Linked DNA regions of Homo sapiens: regions 2, 3, 4 and 5 are each linked to region 1. The links are contacts of gene promoters, found by promoter capture Hi-C in human tissues and cell types (Jung and others, 2019). All regions are on one chromosome and are shown on one strand. The core of a region is centred on a gene start or on the middle of the fragment in contact, and the rest is flanking DNA. Distances in the headings are between cores, read along the strand shown. Region 1 holds the start of ZNF285 (zinc finger protein 285). Region 2 overlaps LOC100505715 (a long non-coding RNA gene). Region 3 holds the start of ZNF45 (zinc finger protein 45). Region 4 overlaps ZNF221 (zinc finger protein 221). Region 5 overlaps ZNF223 (zinc finger protein 223).

Region 1 (2,683 bases), core at 81-2,580:
ATGCCCATATCAACTTCTTCAGGGAATGAAGACCTAGAGGAAAAGTGCAGCTGAATCTGGAACTGCAATTGCCCAGAAACACGATCAGAAATGTAATAAATGCTGCTATTACACCTAAAATAATTAACACTAAATCTCTAACTTTATCAAATATACAGAGAGTGTTCAAACTTCAAATTTGTTGAGTGTAATTTAACAACTTATATTTGCTAATGTGCTTTATAATACTCAAAGTCCCTACTCCCTGGCTCACAGCATGTGAGGTGAGAATGGAGTTAATAATTTGGGGCAGTTCTTTTCTTTTCTTTTTTCTTTGAGACAGAGTCTGGCTCTGTCGCCCAGGCTGGAGTGCAGTGGCGTGATCTCAGCTCACTGCAAGCTCCGCCTCCCGGGTTCACGCCATTCTCCTGCCTCAGCCTCCCGAGTAGCTGGGACTACAGGCGCCTGCCACCGTGCCCGGCTAATTTTTTGTAATTGTTTTTTGTAGTAGAGACGGGGTTTCACCGTGTTAGCCAGGATGGTCTCGATCTCCTGACCTCGTGATCCGCCCACTTTGGCCTCCCAAAGTGCTGGGATTACAGGCGTGAGGCACCGCGCCAGGCCTGGGACAGTTCTTTTCAAAATGTATTCGGTGACATTAAACTCTGGAGTTATTACAGTATTACAGTCTGAGTTGTTTCTTTATTGCCAAAAGCCAGAACCTCTGCCTTGAAGTCATAAATGCCCCAATGGAGTCAGAGCTGCCAAAATCCAGAGTTCAGACCCAAGACAACTCCCCATCCAAGAACCTAGGGGTGCTGAGCCAGAATCGCCCCCACCAAACTGAGCGAGAACAGCCGAAGCCATCCTCTATATCCAGAGACTAGCTGCTTAAGCAAATCCCTCATCCCATTCAGGGACGCACAGTCCAGCCATTACTCCAAAACCCTGAGCCAGCGCCCCTCTGCCCTCATCCAGAGATGCACATCCCAAGACTGACCCTAAGCTTCGACCCGAGGAGGCACAGCGCAAGTCGCTGTCACGAAACGTGAAGATGCACTGTTTTGTCAAACCCAGGGCTGCTCCCCAAACCGAGCCCACGCTCGAGCCCACGCTCTTCCCATCCTATCCCGGGTAGGTCGGGCCGCTGAACTTCCCTAGTCTACCCCACCTACGAGGCCTTATCATTGGTTACCAGTCCCCTCTTCCACTCCTCCTACTTCAGTCCACAGGGACGGGTCACAGCTGCACATCCTACACTCCTACTCCTGGCTACGCCTCCAAGAGGGGCGCGGTACAGACGGGACTCACCCCAGCGTCCCAAACAATGTCGCCCGCAGCGTGCGTCCAGTACCATGGCGCATGCGCAAGGAGGCCTATGGCCTACAATCCCCAGAAAGCCCCGCGCGCAGCAGTGGCCATTCGCAAGGCTACCCTGGTGAAGGTGGCCTTTGACTTCCGTGCATTTGGAAGTCCTTTGACTTCCGTGCATTCGTCTAAAATAACGACAATCATAATAACGATAAAATAATGAAATGTTAAATAAATCACTATCAACGATGAAAAGAAGTTTCAATATTTTACTACTTGGAAATGGGCACTTTACCGTTTTAGTGAAGACTTTTATAAGTTCTTATTTTATAGGCATGTCTTTTAACGTTAAAACCACGAAACTTTTCAATTAACACTCACTTAAATAATTCCCTCCCCGCCCCCCACCATGTTTTATTTCTGTTGATGAAAACTCTGGATAATCTACACTTGCGATATAACATAGCCCTGTAATTTATTTCCTAGTCTCAGAAGAAGCAGAAGGAATTAACAACTATTGTCTGAATCCTTAACAGGGGAATTGCAGGAGTACTGAGAGTGTCCTAAAAGAGACACATTACAACATAACAAGAAAACGCGGGAAGTTTTCAGATTCTTTTTGAAAATTTGCCCTTGTTGAGACTTAGGCTTTATTTTACTTCATGTTATTGCATTTAAGATTTAAGATTTCTATTAAAGAAAAATTTGGGTACCCTAAATGGGGTAAGAAAATTGAATAGGAATTCCATTAGAGGCCCACAGTTTTAGCCTGGAGGAAAGCCCTGATAACGTGTGAGAACAATCTGTCTCCTAGGAAAGGTCACCTGGTCCTGCTGGCAGAGTCTCTGTTTGGAATATCTGGCTGGCATTCCCTTTTCCACGCACCCTCAAGCTGTAGGGGTGGTGAGGCGGTTCCAGTCCTAGACTAGATAGAGAAGTGAAGACCCCCACCTCTACGCAATGGGCAGGAAATGGTTGAATAATATCCAACTATAGCTTGACATCGCAGCTTAGGGCACATAAAGGGACAGTGCAATTGTTTTGGCTTATCTCTGTCTTTTGATGTTTACATGTTTGATGTTCTTATATATTGCTCTAAGTTGAAGGATTACTTGATTTAATTTGACATACTTGAATTTTAAAAAACGAGTTCAGGAACATTTTTATTTTTGACCTAATACAAGGTTAATTTTTGTGACATCTGTGTCTGTTGGAAAACAATGTGTCTTCTCTATCAGATGGATATGCATACATTTATATTTTCCCCAGACTTGCTAACTGTGCTATTTAAATTTCCTACATGCTTATTTGTGCTTACTTAGATTTTTTCATTATGCATCTGTCAACGATTGAAAAGTGCATGTCAAAAAGGTTCCCAGTCTGGGCGTGGTGG
Region 2 (2,683 bases), core at 47-2,546, 510 kb before region 1:
ATTAAGGATCTTCTCACAAAAATAATGTCAGGCCAAGAGGATTCAGTAGCAAATTCTCCCAAACATTTAAGAAATTAAAAATGCCAATCAAACTCAACTTGTTCTAGAAAATAGAAAAAAACAAACTATGTCATAAGGCCAGAATAACTGTGATATCAAAACCAGATGAGGATATTACATAAAAGGAAAATTACAATATATCTGTTTCATGAACACAGACGCAAGCATATTAAACCAAATATTAGCAAAGAGAAACCAGTAACATATTGACCAAGAGAGCTTTATTTTAGAAATTCAAAGGCCATTTAATTTAATTTTTTACCATAACCTCAAACAAGTATAAGTTTAATTTTTAAAAAATCAATGTAATCTTTCAATGTTAACTAATAAAGGAGAAAACCATTCAATTATTTCATTAGAAATAATCCATTTAACAATATACAACATTAATCATGATAAAAATTCTCAGCAAACCAGGACTAGAGGGGAACTTCTTTCATCTGATAAAGGGGACCTAAAGAATAAAAACTACAACTACCATTGTACATAAAGGGATCATTATACATAATATGGACCACTGTCTTTCTGATTTCAGGAACAAGGTAAGGTTGTCTACTCTTACATGTCTTTTCAATTTTGTAGTAGAAGACCTATCCAATATTATAAGGAAAAAATAAAAGGTGTAAATGGAAGGAAGTAAAATGATCTTTATTTGCAGATAGTGTAGATTACATGATTATGTACATAAAAATATTTTTTAATTCCACAAGCTTTAAATTAAATAATTTATTGCTGAATAAAGGGTAAAAGTATAAAACAATTATATTAAAGCAAAGCTACTGAAAAATAAAATTTTTAAAACCTTAACAGTTTGTAAAAACATAAAAAATGTAAAACAGGAATAAATTTAACAGATGTGCAAGACCTTTAGACAGGAAACAACAAAACCTTAAGGAAAGAAATTAAAGATGAATTCAATAAATGGAAATGTATTCCATGTTCATGAACTGTAAGACTCAATTTTGAGATAATTCTCTCTAAATTTATCTACTGATTCAATGTACTGCCAACAAAATGTCAGCAGGGCGTTTTGTTTGTTTTGAGAAAATTAATTAACTCATTCTAAAATTATAGAGCAATGCAAAGAACCTGGAATAGACAAAGTGATTTTGAAGAACAAAGTTGTTCTTCAACTTATATTACCAGATTATCAAGATATAATATAAAGCTACAGGAATTAAAATGGAGGTGCTGGCACAAAGATTGACAAAGAGGACCAACGGAAAAGTAGAAAGACTCCTGCACATATATGGGCCCATGCTTTACAGTAAAAGTCTGACTGCAGCTTAAGAGAAGGCCAGTGTTTTTAACAAACGGTGCCAGTGCACTTGGATATCTGTATGAAAAAAATGATTTTGAACTTCATCCCACTACATACACAGATATAAATTCAAGATGGATCATAGGTCTAAGTGTGAAAACAAACAATAAAGATTCTGGAGGAAGAAACAGAAAAATAACTTTGTGGTCTTGGGATAGATAAAATTTTCCTTTTTTTTTGTTTTAACTTTTAATTTCCACTTATTTTAGACTTAGAGAAAAGTTGCAAGAGTAGTACAGAGGGTTCTCATATACCCTTCATTCTAGCGTTTATCTTACATAACCAAAGGATAATTATCAAAACCAGGAAATTAACATTGGTACAATACGAAAAATTTGCACATCTTATTCAAATATGTTTTCCCATTAATGTCCTTTTTCTTTTCCAGGATCCCACACATTAATCTACGTTGCATTTAGCTGTTATTTCTCTTTAGTCTCTTCCGATCTCCTTAGACTTTCTTACTGCATTAATTTTCAGTTGCTACCATAACCAATTACCACGAATTTAGCTTAAAACAACATAAATATATAAAATCTCACAGTTTCCATGGACCTGGAGTTTAGCTGGGTGCTGTCCTCAGGCTGGTCTCACAGGCTGCAAACGAGGGGTTACCTGGGCTGTGTTCTCCTCTGGAGTTCAACTGGGGGAGAATTCATTTCCAGGTTCATTCAGATTGTAGGGAGAATTCATTTCCCTGTGGCCATACGACTGAGGGCCTCACCTTTTTGCTGACTGTTGGCTGGAGGTTGCCCTCAGGTTCTGCAGGCCACCTGCAGTTCCTTTGCAAGATGGGCTTCTCCAACATTGCCACTTACTTCATCAAGCCCACAAAAGAAGTCCAATCTGCTATGAGTCTTATATGGTATAACATAATCACAGTAGAGACATCTCGTCACTTTTTTTTTTCATATGATAGGTTTATTTTTATTATTTTAAGGAACCTTCATACTGTTTTACATAATGGCTATACCAATTGATATTGCCATCAACAGTGTACAAGTGTTCCCTTTCCTCTACATCCTCACCAACACTTATCTATTTTCTTTTCTTTTCTTTTTTTTTTTTGAGACGGAGTCTTGCTCTGTCACCCAGGCTGGAGTGCAGTGGCGCGATCTCAGCTCACTGCAAGCTCCGCCTCCCGGGTTCACGCCATTCTCCTGCCTCAGCCTCCCGAGTAGCTGGGACTACAGGCGCCTGCCACCGTGCCCGGCTAATTATTTTTGTATTTTTAGTAGAGACGGGGTTTCACCGTGGTCTCAATCTCCTGACCTCGTGATCCGCCCGCCTCGGCCTCCCAAA
Region 3 (2,683 bases), core at 133-2,632, 470 kb before region 1:
CAAAATTTTCTAAAGTCTAAACTCAACCTTGCTTTCAAAATCTTCTACAGTAAAATTCCAACCTCCCTCCCCAACTTGATCTCAAATGGCTCCTCTGCAGCCAGTTTCCTATGATTATTTATATGGATCATTTATCTATTTTATTTCCTAATTCTAAATTGGGATTTCAAACTGTGAGACCAAGGGTATTCAGATGTAAGGAACCCAAGTCTAGGACACAAATCCCACTGTTCTTACTAGCACTGTGATATAGGAAAGTAAATTAGGCTCTCTCCATTTCCTCATCTGTATAATTGGTGTAATAACAGTACCCATATCACAATACCCACATCACCTTTGTAAGGTGAACAGAACCCACAACACAAGGCCTTTGTGAAGGTTCAGTGTGTTAGTTTTTATAAAGCCCTCAGAGTGATACTCAGCACCCAATGTTTAACTAGTGTGACTAATATTCATGTCACATTTTCTCCAATTATACAATAACGGAACACTTCTGTAGCAGAAACATTTGCAAGGAATGAAATACCTTCTCGCACTCGGAACAGAAGAGGAAGGTGAATGCTAGGTCCTGTCACAGTGGGGCTCTGCTGCCAGAAGCCAGGATGCTCTCCTTCCTCCTCTCCCGCAGCATTCTTTCAGAAGTCAGGGCAGGGGAAGGAAAGGAGGCTGGGAGATTGCACGATCTTGTCTGAGATCCTGGAAAATCCACAGAGGATAACTCCAGACGCCACCTGTTGAGTGATGCACTCTTTCTTAAAAAACGGGTCAGGCATAGTCCAAGAACAGCCTCCTTTCCTGCAGGAATCAGAAAGAAGAGCCAGGCGCTTGCTGAAAAATGAATATTTTTTATTATGATAGTTTTAATATTAACGGCCGACATGTTGCCACATTCCTGTACTATTCCATACACATTTTACTTGTACTATATTACTAATTGTCAAAACAAATATATAAGGTTAATATTTCCTTTTGCAGAAGAGGAAACTAAGACCAGAAACTAAGCACCGAAAGATTAAGTTCTCACCCAACGTTACACCGCTAGGAAGCTACAGAGCTGTGGGAGGTGGGGGAAGGCGGGTCGGGCCGCTGAGAGCCCAGGAGATCCTCAGACGCCTCCCCATTCAGGTCCACTTCCAACCAGGGGACTCCCGAACCGCCCCGAACGCAGCAGCTCCGGATACAGTAAGGCAATCAGCTGCCCAGCCATTCAACTCCGCCCTCCGCTGCTCGCCGCAGCGTCTTTTCCTGCTGACCGAAGTGCGAGCCCTGCTGATCCTACGACCAAACCATAAAAGTTAAAACAGGTCGCGGGGTCCCAGGACTCACTCACTTCCACGAGAGGAATGAAGGCCGCGCTCTCAACCTCTTGCCGCGGAAGTGCCCGGGAGAGCAGGGAGCTCTGGAACTACATTTCCCAGCATCCCCGGGAGGAACGGAAGCCGCTGCCCCGCCCCCTGGGCGGAAGTGCGGGCTTCGACTCCCACGGCCGAATCTTATTTCTCAGAATCCCCAAGGGGAGCGGGCTTCGTGTTCTCGTCCTCAAATAGTCGAAGTACCACCGAACCCACTGAGCACTGGGGTATAGGTTCCTATTTCCCCAGGGGAGCAAATAACAAAGCCGCGCTTTCCCAGAGCTGAAGTGCCCCCAAAAGTCTGGACCACACGTCCCAGAATCCTCTGTAGGGCTGAGCTTCCCGCCAGCCTGCAATTTTCCTTTTGAATTAGCGGGGGGAGTCTAAGTCATTGCTTGTAGAGCTCAGCCTGCTTTTTCCTTTTGCCATTGTTCCCTTTTATACGTGACAGAAGTTGCGAATATGAAAAAAAAAAAGGAAAATACAAAGGAATGCTATGTGTGAGCTAAAAACAGAGGTAATAAAAGAGGTGGCCAGAGCCGCCCAGAGCAACAAGCCTTTTATAATATGGGTATGGATTCATCTGTGATTAAAAATGCTCAAAAAAGGAGATGCAATCATCCAGCAGGACATGAAACAAAAGCAGCAAAATTCTCCACTTTTCTTGCGCTTAGTTTTCTTTCATTCGCAGGATACTGAAGAAAGTATTATAGTATTGAATAGGCTCTATCCTATATAAAATCTTGAAAACATTCAGTTCAGATTAAGGAATCACATCACTTCTTGCTCTCAGAATCAGGAATCTGTAAAGGTGTCTTATGATTTGCCAAAGTGTCTATGAATATTCAGTAAGGAGAGGGAGGTGAAGTGAGGGATTAAGACATGAAGTGCAAAAAATACAGAAAGCTATACTATTCACTTTTCTCCTAGGTAGAAACTAAATATTTTTCCAAGTTTATTATGAAAGGGTAAAGAAGAAAAAATGGAAGTTGACTACATAGGAGTAGCTGTAAACATCTGAACAATGTTCAATTTAGGCTGAGGCAGGAGACCAGCAGGGCGTGATTCCAAGATCAGATAAGAAACCTGCTGAAACCAGCAAGTGATGGAAAGCAACCTGTAAGTTCCCTTTGCTACCTATCAGTATAAGACACTCCCACCAGCGCCGTGACGGTTTATAAATGCCATGGCAACACCTGGAAGTTACCAACCCCTTTTCTAGAGATTTCCGAGTAACTCACCCCTTAATTTGCATGTAATGAAAAGTTGGTATAAATATACCCAGCCAACAGCCCATATGCTGCTACTCTGGGCACACTGCCTGTGGGCTA
Region 4 (2,683 bases), core at 117-2,616, 440 kb before region 1:
AACTTTGCTGCTTTGTGTTCATGCCCTAGGGATTTCTGGAAGCTTGAACTTAAGAGTGATAACTTAGGGTACCTGGCAAAAGAAATTTCTGAGCAGCAAAGCATTCAAGAAGTGGCCTGGCTGCCTCACTGCTTCAAACAGCCTACAATTATATATGGGAGCAAAAAAATGACTTAAAGTTGGAATTTATATTTAAAAGGTAAGCAGAGTATAAAAGTTTGGAAAATTTGCAGCCTGGCCATTTAGTAGAGAAAGAAAAAGCATTTTTAGGAGAGGAATACATGTCGGCTGTGGAGCAACCACTCGCAAAAGAGATTTGCATGACTAACAGAAAGCCAAGTGGTAATATCTGAGACAATGGGAAAAAGACCTGGAAGACATTTCAGAAGTCTTCAGGAAAGTCCCTCCCATCACAGGCCTAGGGGCCTAGGAGAAAAGAATGGTTCCAAGGGCCAGGCCCAGGGACCCCCTGCCCTGAGCAGCCTCAAGACATTGTGCCCTGAATCCGGCCACTCTGGCTCCAGCCTCAGCTTAGAGTGCCCCAGGCGCAGGCTGGGTTGCAGCTCCAGAGGGTTCAAGCCTTGATAGTTGTGGTAGTTTCCACATTGTGTTAAGGCTGCAGATGCTCAGAATGCAAGCATGAAGGAGGCTTGGCAGCTTCTACCTAGATTTCAAAGGATGTATGAGAAAGCCTGGGATCCCAGTCAGAAGCCTGCCACAGTGGGGGAGCCCCAACAGAGAACCTCTACCAGGGCAGTGCCAAGGAGAAATGTGAGGGCTCCCCACAGAGTCCCCACTAGGGCACTACCTAATGGATCTGTGGTAAGGGGACCACTGCCCTCTGAGAAGTGGTCCTGAGACCACTGCTCAGTCATATCACTTGGCTGCCCAAGGCCTTGGGAGTCTATCTCTTATACCAGGATGTGGGACATGGAGTCAAGGATTATGTTGGAGCTTTAAGAGCCCTGGCTGGAGTACAGTAGCACAATCCTAACTTGCTGCAGCCTTTAACTCCTAGACTCAAGCTATCCTCCTGCCTCAGCCTCCCAAGTAGCTGGGATTACAGGCTCAAGCCACAGCACCTGCCTCTTCATATGCTCTTTACCCAAATTTTCCAATTATTTACATTTTGTATTTTGCTTTGTTAACACCCATCAGCCAAATACCACTGGGAACAAACTTATAATGAGAAACAACTTATTGTAGCTTTCTGCATCAAGGAACCCCACATAGCAAGGTGATCATGGAGTGTCTTGGTAAGAGGCATTTAGGAAGGGCTGGCTATAGAGTTTCATATAAGATGCTAGGTAGTATTAGATATAATATTAAGTAATATCACTATTAAATACTAGATATCAATTAAAAGACTATTAATATTAGTTAATTCTGTTACCTATTAGATATGGCTAGACACCATCATCTTTTCTATCCAAACTCCCATATTTAAATTTGTTGTGCTTTTTAAAGTTCTTGTAACTGTTTTCCCCCATCCCCCAGTCCAAAGTCCAATTTTATGTACTGCTTTTAGGTGTCACATTTCTGTAGTCTTCTTTAATCTAGAAAGATTCAACAGGCTTTGTCTTTTTATTCTTGACATCCTTGAAGTATATAGGCAAAGTATTTTATAGAAAGATAGTCATTTGGGATTTATGTATTTCATGTTTAGGTTCAGATTATGCATTGTTGGTGTGGATACCACAGAAGTGTTGAAGTGTCATAACAGGGGCCAAATGATGTCTGTTTTTCCCTTCATTGGAGATCTCAACTTTGTTCACTTGGCCAAGATGATATCTTTCAGATTTTTCCACTGAAAGGTTACTTTTTAATTAAATTTTGAAAATAAAAACGTTTCTTACGGGAGATACATTATTAGTGGGCATTATCCTGTAAAGATTAGCTTCCACTTCTCCCTGATTTATTAATCAGTTTCTTCAACTATAAATATTCTATCAATATGGACCCACAATCCAGTTAAATAACATGTAGATTAACTGTTATTATTTCCAACTTTATTGAGGTGTATTTTACATGTCATAGAATTTACCCATTTCAGTCGTACGATTTAATAATCTTCAGGAACTTTGAACAGTGGTGTGACCGTCATCATAATTCAGTTTAGATCATTTTCGCCCCCCAATTGGACTCCTTGTGCTTATGTACAGTTAAACCTCATTCTCACCTCAAATCTGGAGCAACCACTAACCTACTTTCTCTATATATACATTTGCTTATTCTGGATATTTTATAAAATTGAATTTTACAATCCATGGGGTTTTTAGACTGGCTTCTTTAACTTAGCATAATGTTTCCAAGGTTCATACATGTTGTAGCATGAGCCAGTTCTTCACTCCTTTGAATTTCCAAATAAAATTCTGTTGTATGGATATGCCATGATTTGTCTATTCATTTACCCGTAGGAGGGCATTTTGCTTGTTTGCAGTTTGGGGTTATGAGTAATGCTGCTATGAACATTCATGTGCTAATTGAAAATACTTGTCTATGTTGGTGGTCGGCATTCCTAGTTACCATTTCCTGTCTGTTTTTCTGCCTTTCCTGGCACTTTCCAGGCATGATTTCACCTTCACTTGAACTGCTTCATTCAGGACTCTGCAAATTCCCTGAAGTAGAAGGAAAAATGACCACATTCAAAGTGAGTAGGGCTTGCCTCTCTTGCTGTTAAAAT
Region 5 (2,683 bases), core at 64-2,563, 340 kb before region 1:
GAAGAGCATCCTCCTTTGTGGACCTCTGGAAGGACAGCCTTTCAGATTCCCCTCAGAACTGCAGTTGTCTGTCTCTGTACTCTTTCAGATAACCAACTTATCATCCATATCAAAACAGAAAAATAAGATTAAGTATTTTATATGTGTCATGCAAAATTCTTGTATAGGAATACTTTCGATTTGTAGATATAAACATTCTAAGGTGTTTGATGTTTAGTATCATGAAGGGTTAAACTAAAAAGTTTAATGGGACATTTTACAGAGAACTGCTCTCACTTCACTCCAAGTGCAAATTCGGCAGTTTTTCAAAACTACCTTCACATTCAATAATTTCCTAGAAAGACCCTCAGAACTCACTGGATGTATTTATTCTCACAGTTACTGATTTTTACAAGCAAAAGATGCATATTATAGTTAACCAAGGGGGAAAAACCAAATAAGACAGAGTCCAGTGAAGTACCAAATGTGGATCTCCTATTGTATTCTCACAGTAGAGTCGGGCATGTTACATACCCAAAATTAGCATGTGACTTAGACACAAGGAACCACCAATCAGGGAAACTCAACTGAGTGCTGGGATCCAAGTAATTATTGGGGCTCCATTACATAGCCATAATTGGTTGGTTGATTCCTGTGTGGTTATTTAGTCTTTTGGTCCACTGGTTCCCTGTGACCTAAAGACCTACATTAAATCACATCGTTATTTTTTCTGACATGGGGAATGCCACCTGCCATTTCCCATCCCCCAAAGCTGTGGCTAGTCACAACCCTAAATTATATTATTTCACTGTCAAGAGTTACCCAAGATTTGCCCCCAAGCAAACAGAGAGACTCTCCTCAGGCATGCCCCTTCAAGATTCTACAGATTACCTCTCAGATACTGAGGACAAAGTCCTGACCTCTTTTTAGTTAGGTTAACTCCTTTTCTTATTTTTAAAAATGTTTTTTAAGCCATCTTAAACTGAAAGGAAGGTTAACTTCTTTATAAGGATATATAATATACAGGCAAATATACGAAGTATTTATTATGTTACTGCTTTCCCTTAGAGTTCCTTTTGATTCATATTTCATTACGTACATAATAGTTTAGTAATTTATCATGTAAAATTTCAGACTGAGTTGGAAATTTTAAAAACAGTAACAGGTTAAATGTATGTGTCATATTAATTTTTTATTAAACCTTTTATTTCTATCAATGATTTTTTATTTGAAATGTGGTATGTTTTTTTCTTTCTTTTCTTTTTTTTTTTTTTTTTTGAGGCAGAGTCTCACTGTGTCGCCCAGGCTGGAGTGCAGTGGCACGATCTCGGCTTGCTGCAACCTGCGCCTCCTGGGTTCAAGCAATTCTCCTGCCTCAGCCTCCCAAGTATCTGGGATTATAGGTGTGTGCCACCACACCTAGCTGATTTTTGTATTTTTAATAGAGACGGGGTTTCACTATGTTGGTCAGGCTGGTCCCGAATTCCTGACCTCAAGTGATCTGCCTGCCTCAGCTTCCCAAAGTGCCTTGGTCTCCCAAAGTGCTGGGATTATGGGTGTGAGCCACCGTCCCCAGTGACATGGTATGGTTTTAGATTACTCTCATGCAAACCAGAAACCAGGGTGCACTTGGAAAACACAAACTGAACATTCGTTGAAGTTTCATACCATGTCCTAAGTGTGAACTCTTAAAAACACTGAACAGGGCATAGCTTGTCCTGATCTCTTAATTTTGTATTCTGATAGGAGGCAAGATCCAACCTGAGATGAAGACTTTTCCAGAAGCAGGACCACATGAAGGGTGGTCCTGCCAGCAGATCTGGGAAGAAATTGCAAGTGATTTAACCAGGCCTCAAGACTCTACCATAAAGAGCTCTCAGTTCTTTGAACAGGGTGATGCCCACTCCCAGGTTGAGGAAGGACTATCTATAATGCACACAGGACAGAAACCTTCCAATTGTGGGAAGTGTAAACAATCCTTCAGTGATATGTCCATCTTTGATCTTCCTCAGCAAATACGCTCAGCAGAGAAGTCTCATTCCTGTGATGAGTGTGGAAAAAGCTTCTGTTACATCTCAGCGCTTCATATTCATCAGAGAGTCCACCTGGGAGAGAAACTCTTTAAGTGTGACGTGTGTGGTAAGGAATTCAGTCAGAGTTTACATCTGCAAACTCATCAGAGAGTCCATACTGGAGAGAAACCTTTCAAATGTGAACAATGTGGGAGAGGCTTCAGATGTAGATCAGCACTTACAGTTCATTGCAAATTACACATGGGAGAGAAACATTATAATTGTGAGGCATGTGGGAGGGCCTTCATTCATGATTTCCAGCTTCAGAAACATCAGAGAATTCACACAGGGGAGAAGCCATTCAAATGTGAGATATGTAGTGTGAGCTTCCGTCTTAGGTCAAGTCTTAATAGGCATTGTGTGGTCCACACAGGAAAGAAACCAAACAGCACTGGGGAATATGGAAAAGGCTTCATTCGTAGGCTGGATTTGTGTAAGCATCAGACGATCCACACAGGAGAGAAACCATATAATTGTAAAGAATGTGGGAAGAGCTTCAGACGGTCCTCCTATCTTTTGATCCATCAGCGAGTCCACACTGGAGAAAAGCCATACAAATGTGACAAGTGTGGGAAGAGCTACATTACTAAGTCAGGTCTTGACTTGCACCATAGAGCCCACACAGGAGAGAG

The links. Contacts are between HindIII fragments. The study calls those that stand out against the background at their distance.
Region 2: a fragment that was not itself captured here is called in contact with the fragment with the promoter of ZNF285 in region 1 in 4 of the 25 tissues and cell types used here (bladder, dorsolateral prefrontal cortex, pancreas and 1 more).
Region 3: the fragment with the promoter of ZNF45 here is called in contact with the fragment with the promoter of ZNF285 in region 1 in 2 of the 25 tissues and cell types used here (dorsolateral prefrontal cortex and mesendoderm cells).
Region 4: a fragment that was not itself captured here is called in contact with the fragment with the promoter of ZNF285 in region 1 in 5 of the 25 tissues and cell types used here (dorsolateral prefrontal cortex, heart left ventricle, hippocampus and 2 more).
Region 5: a contact is called between a fragment that was not itself captured here and the fragment with the promoter of ZNF285 in region 1, in 2 of the 25 tissues and cell types used here (dorsolateral prefrontal cortex and spleen).

What each region holds. Positions count from the first base shown.
Region 1 is chr19:44,400,278-44,402,960 of GRCh38, forward strand. It overlaps ZNF285 (zinc finger protein 285), which reads right to left and starts at 1,331. Exons shown (of 4, transcript NM_152354.6): 1 at 1,291-1,331. RefSeq lists an enhancer at 728-1,484. The HindIII fragment of the contact is 9,713 bases long and covers 1-2,683 here.
Region 2 is chr19:43,891,117-43,893,799 of GRCh38, forward strand. LOC100505715 (a long non-coding RNA gene) reads right to left here. Exons shown (of 3, transcript NR_038334.1): 3 at 688-2,024. Among named protein-coding and RNA genes, the nearest start is that of ZNF404, 8.5 kb to the left of the region's middle. The HindIII fragment of the contact is 7,085 bases long and covers 1-2,683 here.
Region 3 is chr19:43,933,900-43,936,582 of GRCh38, forward strand. ZNF45 (zinc finger protein 45) reads right to left here and starts at 1,383. Exons shown (of 10, transcript NM_003425.4): 1 at 1,025-1,383; 2 at 527-795. It overlaps ZNF45-AS1 (ZNF45 antisense RNA 1), which reads left to right. Exons shown (of 3, transcript NR_184050.1): 3 at 1-1,915. The HindIII fragment of the contact is 9,817 bases long and covers 1-2,683 here.
Region 4 is chr19:43,960,158-43,962,840 of GRCh38, forward strand. ZNF221 (zinc finger protein 221) reads left to right here. Exons shown (of 5, transcript NM_001297588.2): 2 at 2,568-2,650. The coding sequence starts at 2,570. Among named protein-coding and RNA genes, the nearest start is that of ZNF221, 10 kb to the left of the region's middle. The HindIII fragment of the contact is 7,430 bases long and covers 1-2,683 here.
Region 5 is chr19:44,064,339-44,067,021 of GRCh38, forward strand. ZNF223 (zinc finger protein 223) reads left to right here. Exons shown (of 5, transcript NM_013361.6): 5 at 1,726-2,683. Among named protein-coding and RNA genes, the nearest start is that of ZNF284, 6.5 kb to the right of the region's middle. The HindIII fragment of the contact is 6,488 bases long and covers 1-2,683 here.